3 separate regions of the Homo sapiens genome follow, and all the other regions are linked to region 1. Evidence: promoter capture Hi-C in 16 types of primary human blood cells and fetal thymus (Javierre and others, 2016). All regions are on one chromosome and are shown on one strand. Each heading gives the region's core, a stretch centred on a gene start or on the middle of the fragment in contact. The rest is flanking DNA. Distances are from core to core; before and after follow the strand shown. Region 1 holds the start of UTP14A (UTP14A small subunit processome component). Region 2 overlaps RAB33A (RAB33A, member RAS oncogene family). Region 3 has its middle 29 kb from the start of APLN.

The links. Contacts are between HindIII fragments. The CHiCAGO score rates a contact against its expected background, and 5 or more counts as called.
Region 2: a contact is called between a fragment that was not itself captured here and the fragment with the promoter of UTP14A in region 1, in 10 of 17 cell types (activated CD4 T cells, naive CD8 T cells, total B cells and 7 more). The highest score is 10.6, in activated CD4 T cells.
Region 3: a fragment that was not itself captured here is called in contact with the fragment with the promoter of UTP14A in region 1 in 15 of 17 cell types (activated CD4 T cells, naive CD4 T cells, non-activated CD4 T cells and 12 more); the score reaches 20.1 in activated CD4 T cells.

What each region holds. Positions count from the first base shown.
Region 1 is chrX:129,904,413-129,907,517 of GRCh38, reverse strand. UTP14A (UTP14A small subunit processome component) reads right to left here and starts at 1,354. Exons shown (of 15, transcript NM_006649.4): 1 at 1,282-1,354; 2 at 76-151. The coding sequence starts at 1,307. LOC105373335 (a long non-coding RNA gene) reads left to right here. Exons shown (of 3, transcript NR_188631.1): 3 at 1-254. The HindIII fragment of the contact is 20,573 bases long and covers 922-3,105 here.
Region 2 is chrX:130,175,533-130,178,385 of GRCh38, reverse strand. All of the region lies in intron 1 of RAB33A (RAB33A, member RAS oncogene family), which reads right to left. Among named protein-coding and RNA genes, the nearest start is that of RAB33A, 5.0 kb to the right of the region's middle. RefSeq lists an enhancer at 1,735-1,804. The HindIII fragment of the contact is 857 bases long and covers 1,170-2,026 here.
Region 3 is chrX:129,624,386-129,627,306 of GRCh38, reverse strand. No RefSeq gene overlaps it. Among named protein-coding and RNA genes, the nearest start is that of APLN, 29 kb to the left of the region's middle. The HindIII fragment of the contact is 5,685 bases long and covers 1-2,921 here.

The DNA of each region.
Region 1 (3,105 bases), core at 105-2,604:
CATTGTCACACCCTTCCATTCCAGGAATGTGCTCTCTACCCTAATTTTGAAGGCAGTTTAGCAATTGTCACCCACCTCATCTTCACTCTCACTCAAGAGGTAGTCTTTTGGCAAATCCGCTAGTTCTTCCTGTTGGCTCAAAGCCAGAAGGCTGTTAAAAGAGGCAACAGAGAAATGTGAATGCAATATACCCATGTAACAAACCTGCATATGTATCCCTTAATTATAATAAAAGTCGAAATTAAAAAAAGAAATATTATTATTTGAAGCAATGTCTAATCTATTAAAACAATCTCGAAAACATTGTAATTTCAGCACAGAATAGCCCTATCCCTCAGAAGATATATAAAGCAGCGTGAATGCCTTTGGAAACTTGTCAAGATGTGAAATTTAGACTGAAGTCAGGCATCACCTCCAAGAGTGATGCCTGACTTCAAAACTGCATGTAAAAGAGCTATCACTTTTCAGGGATTGGCACAACATTTCCTATGACCTATGGGAAGCTGTAAAAATGTCAGACCCTAGAATAATATGGCCAAAGACGCTGTTGCTAGCTAGCCCTGGAGGCAAGGCAGTTTCACGATTAATATTTCTAAGCATCCTCCATATATTTGACTCATTGATAGGCAGCCTAATCAAAAGTGTTATCTTGATCCTTGTTCCCAGGAATGGAGAAACAGGTCGAAAGCAGCTGGGTAAGCCACTTTCCCTGGGGCTTGCTTAGTAAAGTAGGTGCTTAACTAAGGAGATTGGTACCCACAAACAAATTATAAAATGTACCATTACCTAACAGCATATATTATTAGTATTTGCAAAGCCAACATTACTAAACGGACTACATTTAGTTCCGGGGGCGGGGTGGGGGGGGCACAAAACATCACAGGAGCCAAAACGTGGTGGATGACTCCAATCAGCAAAGCTTTCCAAGATTCGGGGAGTTTATAACGCCTGCACTGCCTGCGCAGAGGATTAAATCGGGCCGCGACAGAGGCAGAAAAAGGGGCCACGTGACGAAAAATGTGAAACACAGTAAATGAGCTGGGGAGGCAGAAACAGCATCAGGACCAACAGGGATGCGGCTATACAGCTGAGGAGCGGAGTAAGCGAATGAAATTAAATTAAAAGGGCTTTAAAGGCTGGATCGCGGAAAATAGGAACGAATGGCCAGCTCTTCAGGGGAACCACTGCCATCTGTTAAAGGGGGGGCTCCCATTTCCCAAAAGCTGGGGAACCCGGCCCCCAACGAGACCCAGAATCCCCCCTCCCCTCGTTGCCCTTCACCTCTCTGCAAGCCGGTTCGCAGTCATTTCAGCAGCCAGCTTCTCTCACATGGACCAAGAACGGAAGCCGAAGGAAAGCAATTTCCGTGCGGGCCGCAAAGCAATTTCTGTTTCCGTCAATCGCTCGCGACGTACACGTCACTTCCGTTCCGTACGAGGCGTGAGAGAAGCAGGAGCCGTGTAGGGAGGGGCCTGCAGAAAACTGGGAGGCCTGAGATGAAACGGCTGTCAGCGGGTGGGGCATTCCTTTCTCCACCCACCCCGTATTTCTCTGGCGCGCGGGTGTCTGTCCTCCTGGCCCCTGGTTTCCACGTGGCCCAAGGTGGGTTAGCTTAGGGCGACGGTGCTGCGCTCTCAGGGGCTGAGCCCGCGCCTTCATTCGTCACTGCAGAATCCAGAAGGAAAGACTACAGCGCCCGTCCTTGTGCGACGGCGTCCTGCAAGCCGACCACAAGCCAGCTCGGGGGTTTATTGAATGCCTATTAAGTGGCCAGATTGTGCCGGGCCCCGGAGATCCGATGGTGAACATAACAAGTTTCCTTCCATTTAAGGAAAAATCGCCTTTGATCCCTTGTAATTGCAGCTTTGTTCTTCATTTCCTGAGTCAAAAGATTTTTTTTATCCAAGAAGGGGCCATCAGTAACTACGCTTCCTCACCTCCCATCAACTTAAAAAAATTTTTTTAAACAACTTTTTTTCTCCCATCAACTTTTAAGAATTTTATTTATTTATTTTTGAGACAGAGCCTTGCTGTGTCGTTCAGGCTGGAGTGCAATGGCGTGATCTCAGCTCACTGCAACCTCCACCTCCCGGGTTCAAGCGATTCTCCTGCCTCAGCCTCCCGAGTCGCTAGGATTACAGGCACCCGCCACCATGCTCGGCTAATATTTGCATTTTTAGTAGAGACGGGGTTTTGCCACGTTGGCCAGGCTGGTCTAGAATTCCTGGCCTCAAGTGATCTGCCCGCCTCGGCCTCCCAAAGTGCTGAGATTACAGGTGTGAGCCACCGGGCCCGGCCTAATATATATATATATTAATTAATGATTGTAGAAAAATAATAGACAAGAACATTCTTTTCATTTTTTTTTTTTGAGACGGAGTCTCACTCCGTCGCCCACGCTGGAATGCAGTGGTGCGATCTCAGCTCACTGCAAGCTCCGCCTCCCGGGTTCACACCATTCACCTGCCTCAGCTTCCTGAGTAGCTGGGACTACAGGCGCCTGCCACCACACCCGGCTAATTTTTTTTTTTTTTTTAAGTAGAGACGGGGTTTCACCGTGTTAGCCAGGATGGTCTCGATCTCGTGACCTCATGATCCACCCGTCTCGGCCTCCCAAAGTGCTAGGATTACAGGCGTGAGCCACGGCGCCCGGCCCGTTCTTTTCATTCTTGTAATCCATTCCCATTTTGCTTTTGCCCCATTATTCCACAGAAATTGCTCTGGACAAGATCAGCGACACCCAAAGTTGCTAAATAAAACGGATACCTCTCAGTCTTTGGCTTCCCAGAACTTTGTGTGGCATTTAGTAACTGTTGATTTCTTTTCTTTTCTTTTCTTTTCTTTTCTTTTCTTTTTTTTGAGACGGAGTTTCGCTCTTGTTGCCAAGGCTGGAGTGCAGTGGCGCGATCTTGGCTCACTGTAACCTCCGCCTCCTGGGTTCAAGTGATTCTCCTGCCTCAGCCTCCCGTGTAGCTGGGATTACAGGCATGCGCCACCACGCCTGGCTAATTTTTGTTTTTTTTTTTTTTTTGAGACGGAGTCTCGCTCTGTCACCCAGGCTGGAGTGCAGTGGCACAATCTCAGCTCACTGCAACCTCTGCCTCC
Region 2 (2,853 bases), core at 349-2,848, 270 kb before region 1:
AAGTGCTGGGACTCTAGGTGTGAGCCACCACGCCTGGTCTCTTTCTCTCTCTCTCTCTCTCTCTTTTCCAGACAAGATCTCATTGTGTCACCCAGGCTGGAGTGCAGCAGTGCAATCATGGCTCACTGCAGCCTCAACCTCCTAGGCGCAAGCAATCCTCCCTCTTCAGCCTTCGGAGTAACTGGGACTACAGGCACGCACCAGCACACCCAACTAATTTTCATATTTTTTTTATTTCATAGAGATGGGGTCCTCCTTATGTTGCCCAGGCTGGTCTGGATCTCCTGGGCTCAAGCAATCATCCTGCCTCGGCCTCCCAAAGTGCTGGCAAGCCACCTTACCTAGCAGTGATCTCATTTTGTTTGAGAGTTAGGTGTTCCTTTCTCAGCATCTTCATAAACCCCTGGCCCCTGCCAAGCAGTGAAAGCATCTCCTTCCTCTTTCGCAGCTGCCTCTCCTCTCACCCTTTCCTCCTTTCCTGTGGGCACCATATCCATACAGTGGATGGGGGTGAAGACTGCCTCTTAGCCACAGCCACATACATGTACCCCAGATCCTTGTTTCTGTCAGATGGCCAATGGGGTATAGTGGAGTCAAATCAACTTGGGTGCAGATCTCGGCCCAAGTCATGTTAGTACATGACTTGTTAGGTGTCCTTAGATAAGTTAGGTGTCCTTAGGTAAGTTACTTTCTCTGACTTCAGTGTCCTCATCTGGAAAGTGATGATAACAATAGTAATCAGGTAGGGATGCTATGAGGATTAGTAGTCCTTGTAAGTATGTGACCCAGTGCCTAATATACACTCTCCCTTCTTTCATGGCCTGAAACCTCCACCATTAAGTCTAGATGGGCAACAACTTGAGCAAGCACTGTTGGAAAGGCAGCAAGCATCCCAGCTCTTCTGCTCAGAAGCTGAGTAAATGCCAGACAAGTCTTTTAACCTCCCTGAACTGAGCCTTGTTTTTCTCATCTCTGCAATGGGACCTTGATCCTCCTATGGTTGCTGGGATGATCCAGTGAAATAACACATGAGAAAGGACTTTTGGAAAATGTCAAGCACTCTGCAAATATTAGTTGTTGCTCTGGTCTCAGAAAGGCCATCAAGCCCTCTCCTGTTGGTATGGTTCCTTGGGTCCATTGGTCTCTCATCCTGGAAATCACAGAAAGCTTGGCTTCTCGAAGGTGAGACAGAGCTAAAGGCCATCCAGTGGGGAGGGGGTGGAGAGAGGAATACTGGCAACATGCCATGGGTGGCCGGGGGCAGGCCCGAACTGATGGGGTGCTGGAGGAGGATGGAGGGGCACAGCATGGGGAACTGCCAAAGAGATATCTAACCTTTTGAACTATTTTCTGGGCGAGCTTCAGCAAGCCCCCAACCCCCTGCATGTGCTCTTAGCTGACAGGGGGATTTCTTTTCCCTAGGAAACATTAACTGGCATCTTTCTATAGATGAGGCATGAATGTGCTTTTGTTGGAGGCCGATGGGGGAGGGTAGAAGTGCAAAAAAAGGAGACAAATACATCTGTAACCTCTGGAGCATGCCCCAGTGGATGATGGGAAAAGTTTAAAAGAAACCTGTTTTCAACTAGCTGGACTGTCCCATCTGCATCTAAGATCCACACACAAAGCTGACACAGAGAATGGCAAAGGAGGACAGAGACAAAGAGAAACTCACACACAGAAAGAAGCAGCAAGGGAGACAGAGAAACTTACACTGATGGATAATTAACCATTAAGTTAACTGGCAGAAGATAGAAGCTCAGAAGCCCTAAGGAAGAAATGATGTCATTCTGACTGCAGGCAGCTTCCAAGGAACACTTAGCTCAGCCTCCATCCACTTGATAATGTAACACAGGAAGGTATTTTTTTTCCCCCAGTGATCAGTAGAGGAACAGAAACTCACAGTCCTGAGCTGTACCTGCCCATAGCCACAGCTGACCTGCAGTTTGTCTTGTCCCCAGGGCTGGGGCACAGGGAGTGCCCAGCCTGTGGGAGGAACCAAACTATTATAGACAGAAGTGAAGCTTCCATGCAAATATACAAAGAATGATTCAAAAATTAGTTTCTTAGCCTCCCCTCTACTACATACCCTCCCTCTCTACACACACACACACACCCCTATTCGGCATTTTCCAATGCATTTAGGAGACAGACTCAATAAATTTAGCTACATCTGTAGGTGACAGACACATCATAGTCATTAAGGGAAGCTCCACTCTTCCTTTGGGGGCTGGGGGATGCCTCCACCCTTCCTAGGCTGATGTCAGGAAAGACTGTCAGCTATCTCTTATGATGTCCCTCTGGATTCTTGTCATAGGTGGCCTTGTGGGTTGGATGGACCATGGAGCTAGGCTGGAGAGAGGATTTTGTGCCAGGCAGCATGATGTGTGGAAAGAGCACCAGAAAGGGAATTAGGAGACATGAGTTCTAGGCCTGGCCCTGTGTGATCTTGGGCAAGTCACTTTCCCTCTCTGAGTCTCAGTTTCCTATCTGCAAGAGGAGGACACTGGATCACAGAATCTGTAACATCTCTTTTATCTCTGAACATTTTCTGCATCTCACACCTGAGTTGAGATAATCAAGGTGCAAAAAGTAAACCCAGGGCTCCCGCCTGTAATCCCAGCACTTTGGGAGGTCGAGGCAGGTGGATCACCTGAGGTCAGGAGTTCGAGACCAGCCTGGCTAACATGGTGAAACCCCATCTCTACTAAAAATATAAAAATTAGCTGGGCATCATGGCAGGTGCCTATAATCCCAGCTACTCAGGAGGCTGAGGCAGGAGAACTGCTTGAACCCAGGAGGCCGAGGTTGCAGTGAGCTGAGATCGTGCCATTGCACTCCAGCTTGGGCAAC
Region 3 (2,921 bases), core at 93-2,592, 280 kb after region 1:
GAAAATTACAAAAATTAGCTGGGTGTGGTGGCGCACCCCTGTAGTCCCAGCTACTCGGGAGGCTGAGGCTGGAGAATCACTTACCCAGGAGGCGGAGATTGCAGTGAGCTGAGATTGTGGTACTGCACTCCAGTCTGGCAACAGAGCGAGACTCTGTCTCAAAACAAAACAAACAAACAAACAATAACAACAACAAAATAGGAAAGTTATAGGCATCTCCCTTGAGCTCCAGACTCATGTACTAAACTGCCTATCCATCATCTCCCTTTGGATGTCCAATAGGCTTCTCAAACATAATGTGACCAGCACTGATTGCCTGATCCTCTCCTCCTGCATACCTGGTCCCTTTGAAGTAAATGGCAGTACATGACAATTCCCATGTGGCTGAGGCAGAAACCTTTTTTTAGAAAACATTAGATTCAGGGGATATATGTGCAGATTTGTTACATGGATATATTGTGTGATGCTGAAGTTTGGGCTTCTATTGATTCCATCACCCAAACGGTGAACATAGCACCTGGTAGGTAGTTTTTCAACCCTTGCCCTCCTCCTTCCCTCCCACCTTTTGGAGTCCCCAGTGTCTATTGCTCCCATCCTTATATCTGTGTTTACCCAATATTTAGCTGCTGTTTATAAGTGAGAACATGTGGTATTCGGTTTTCTGTTTGTGTTAATTCACTCAGGATAATGGCCTCTAGCTGCATCCATGTTGCTGCAAAGGACACAATTTCATTTATTTTATGGCTACATAGTACTCTATGGTGTACATATACCACATTTTCTTTGTCCAGTCACACTGATGGGCACCAAGGCTGATGTGATTCCATGTCTTTGCTGTTGTGAACAGTGCTGCGATGAACATGCGAGTGCATGTGTCTTTTTGGTAGAACGATTTATTTTCTTTTGGATACATACCCAGTAATGGGATTGCTGGGTCAAGTTGTAATTCTATTTTCAGTTATTTGAGAAATCTCCAAACTTCTTTCTACAGGAGCTGAGCTAATTTACAATCCCACCAACAGTGTATGAGTGTTTTTTTTCTCTCTGCAACCTCGCCAACATCTGTTATTTTTGACTTTTTAATAGGAACCAGTCTGACTGGTGTGAGATGGTATCTCATTGTGGTTTTGATTTGCATTTCTCTGATTAGCGATGTTGAGCATTTTTTCATATGTTTGTTGGCCACTCATATGTCTTCTTTTGAGAAGTGTCTGTTTATGTCCTTTGTCTAGTTTTTAATGGGGTTGTTTGTTTTTTTCCTTGTTGATGAGTTTAAGTTCCTAATAGATTCCAGATATTAATTAGTCCTTTGTTGTTTGCATAGTTTGCCTCTATTTTCTCCCATTCTGTGGGTTGTCTGTTTACTCTGTTGATGGCTTCTTTTGATGTGTAGAAGCTGTTTAGTTTAATCAGGTCCTACTTGTCAATTTTTGGTTTTGTTGCATTTGCTTTTGAGGACTTAGTTATAAATTATTTACCTTGGCCAATGGCCAGAAGAGTATTTCTTAAGTTTGATTCTAGGATTTTTATAGTTTATGGTCTTACATTTAAGTCTTTATTCCACCTTGTGTTAATTTTTGTATGCGGTAACAGGTAGAGGTTGAATTTCATTCTTCTGCATATGGTTAGCCAGTTTTCCCAGCAGCATTTATTGAGTAGGGTGTCCTATTGGGTATTCCCCATTGTTTATTTTTGTCCACTTTGCTGAAGATCAGTTGGTTGTAGGTGTACAGTTTTATTTCAGGGGTCTCTATTCTGTTCCATTGGTCTATGTGTCTGTATTTATTTTTGTACCAGCACCATGCTCTTTTGGTTACTGTGCCCTTGTAGTATAATTTGATGTCAGGTAATGTGACGCCTCTGGCTTTGTTCTTTTTGCCCAGGATTGCTTTGGTTATTCTGGCCGTTTTTTGATTCCATATTGATACGGTTTGGCTGTGTTCCCACCCAAATCTCATCTTCAATTTTAGTTCCCATAATCCCCACATGTCATGGGAGGGACCTGGTGGGAGGTAATTTAATCATGGGGGCGGGTTTTTCCCATGCTGTTCTCATGATAGTAAGTTTTATAATATCTGATGGTTTTATAACGGTGAGTTTCCCTACACACGCTCTCTCTTGCCTGCCACCATGTGAAACATTCCTTTGCTCCTCCTTCACCTTCGACCATGACTGTGAGGCCTCCCCAGTCATGTGGAACTGTAAGTCCATTAAACCTCTTTTTCTTTATAAATTACCCAGTTTTGGGTATGTCTTCATTAGCAGAGTGAGAACAGGCTAATACACATATGAATTTTAAGATTATTTTTTCTAATTATTTGAAAAATGATGTTGGCATTTTGATAGGAATTGCATTGAATTTGTAGATTGCTTTGGGCAGTATGGTCGTTTTCACAATATTGGTTCTTTCAATCCATCAGCATGGAATGTTTTTTTCATTTGTTTGTGTCTTCTCTGATTTCATTGAGCAGTGTTTTGTAGTTCTCCTTGTAGACACCTTTCACCTCTTTGGTTAGCTGTGTTCCTAGGTATTTTATTCTTTTTTTGGCTATTATAAATGGGGTTGTGTTCTCCATTTGGTTCTCAGCTTGAATGTTATTGACATATAGAAATGTTACTGATTTTTGTACATTGGTTTGTATCCTAAAACTTTACTGAGGTTGTTTATCAGATCTAGCAGTCTTTAGGTGAAATCTTTAGAATTTTCTAGGTGTAGAGTCATATTGTCAATGAATAGAGATAATTCGATGTTCTTTTTTTGTTTTGAGACAGAGTCTCACTCTGTCAGCCAGGCTGGAGTGCAGTGGCGTGATCTCAGCTCACTGCAAGCTCCGCCTCCTGGGTTCCCGCCATTCTCCTGCCTCAGCCTCCAGAGTAGCTGGGACTACAGGTGCCCACCACCACGACTGGCTAATTTTTTT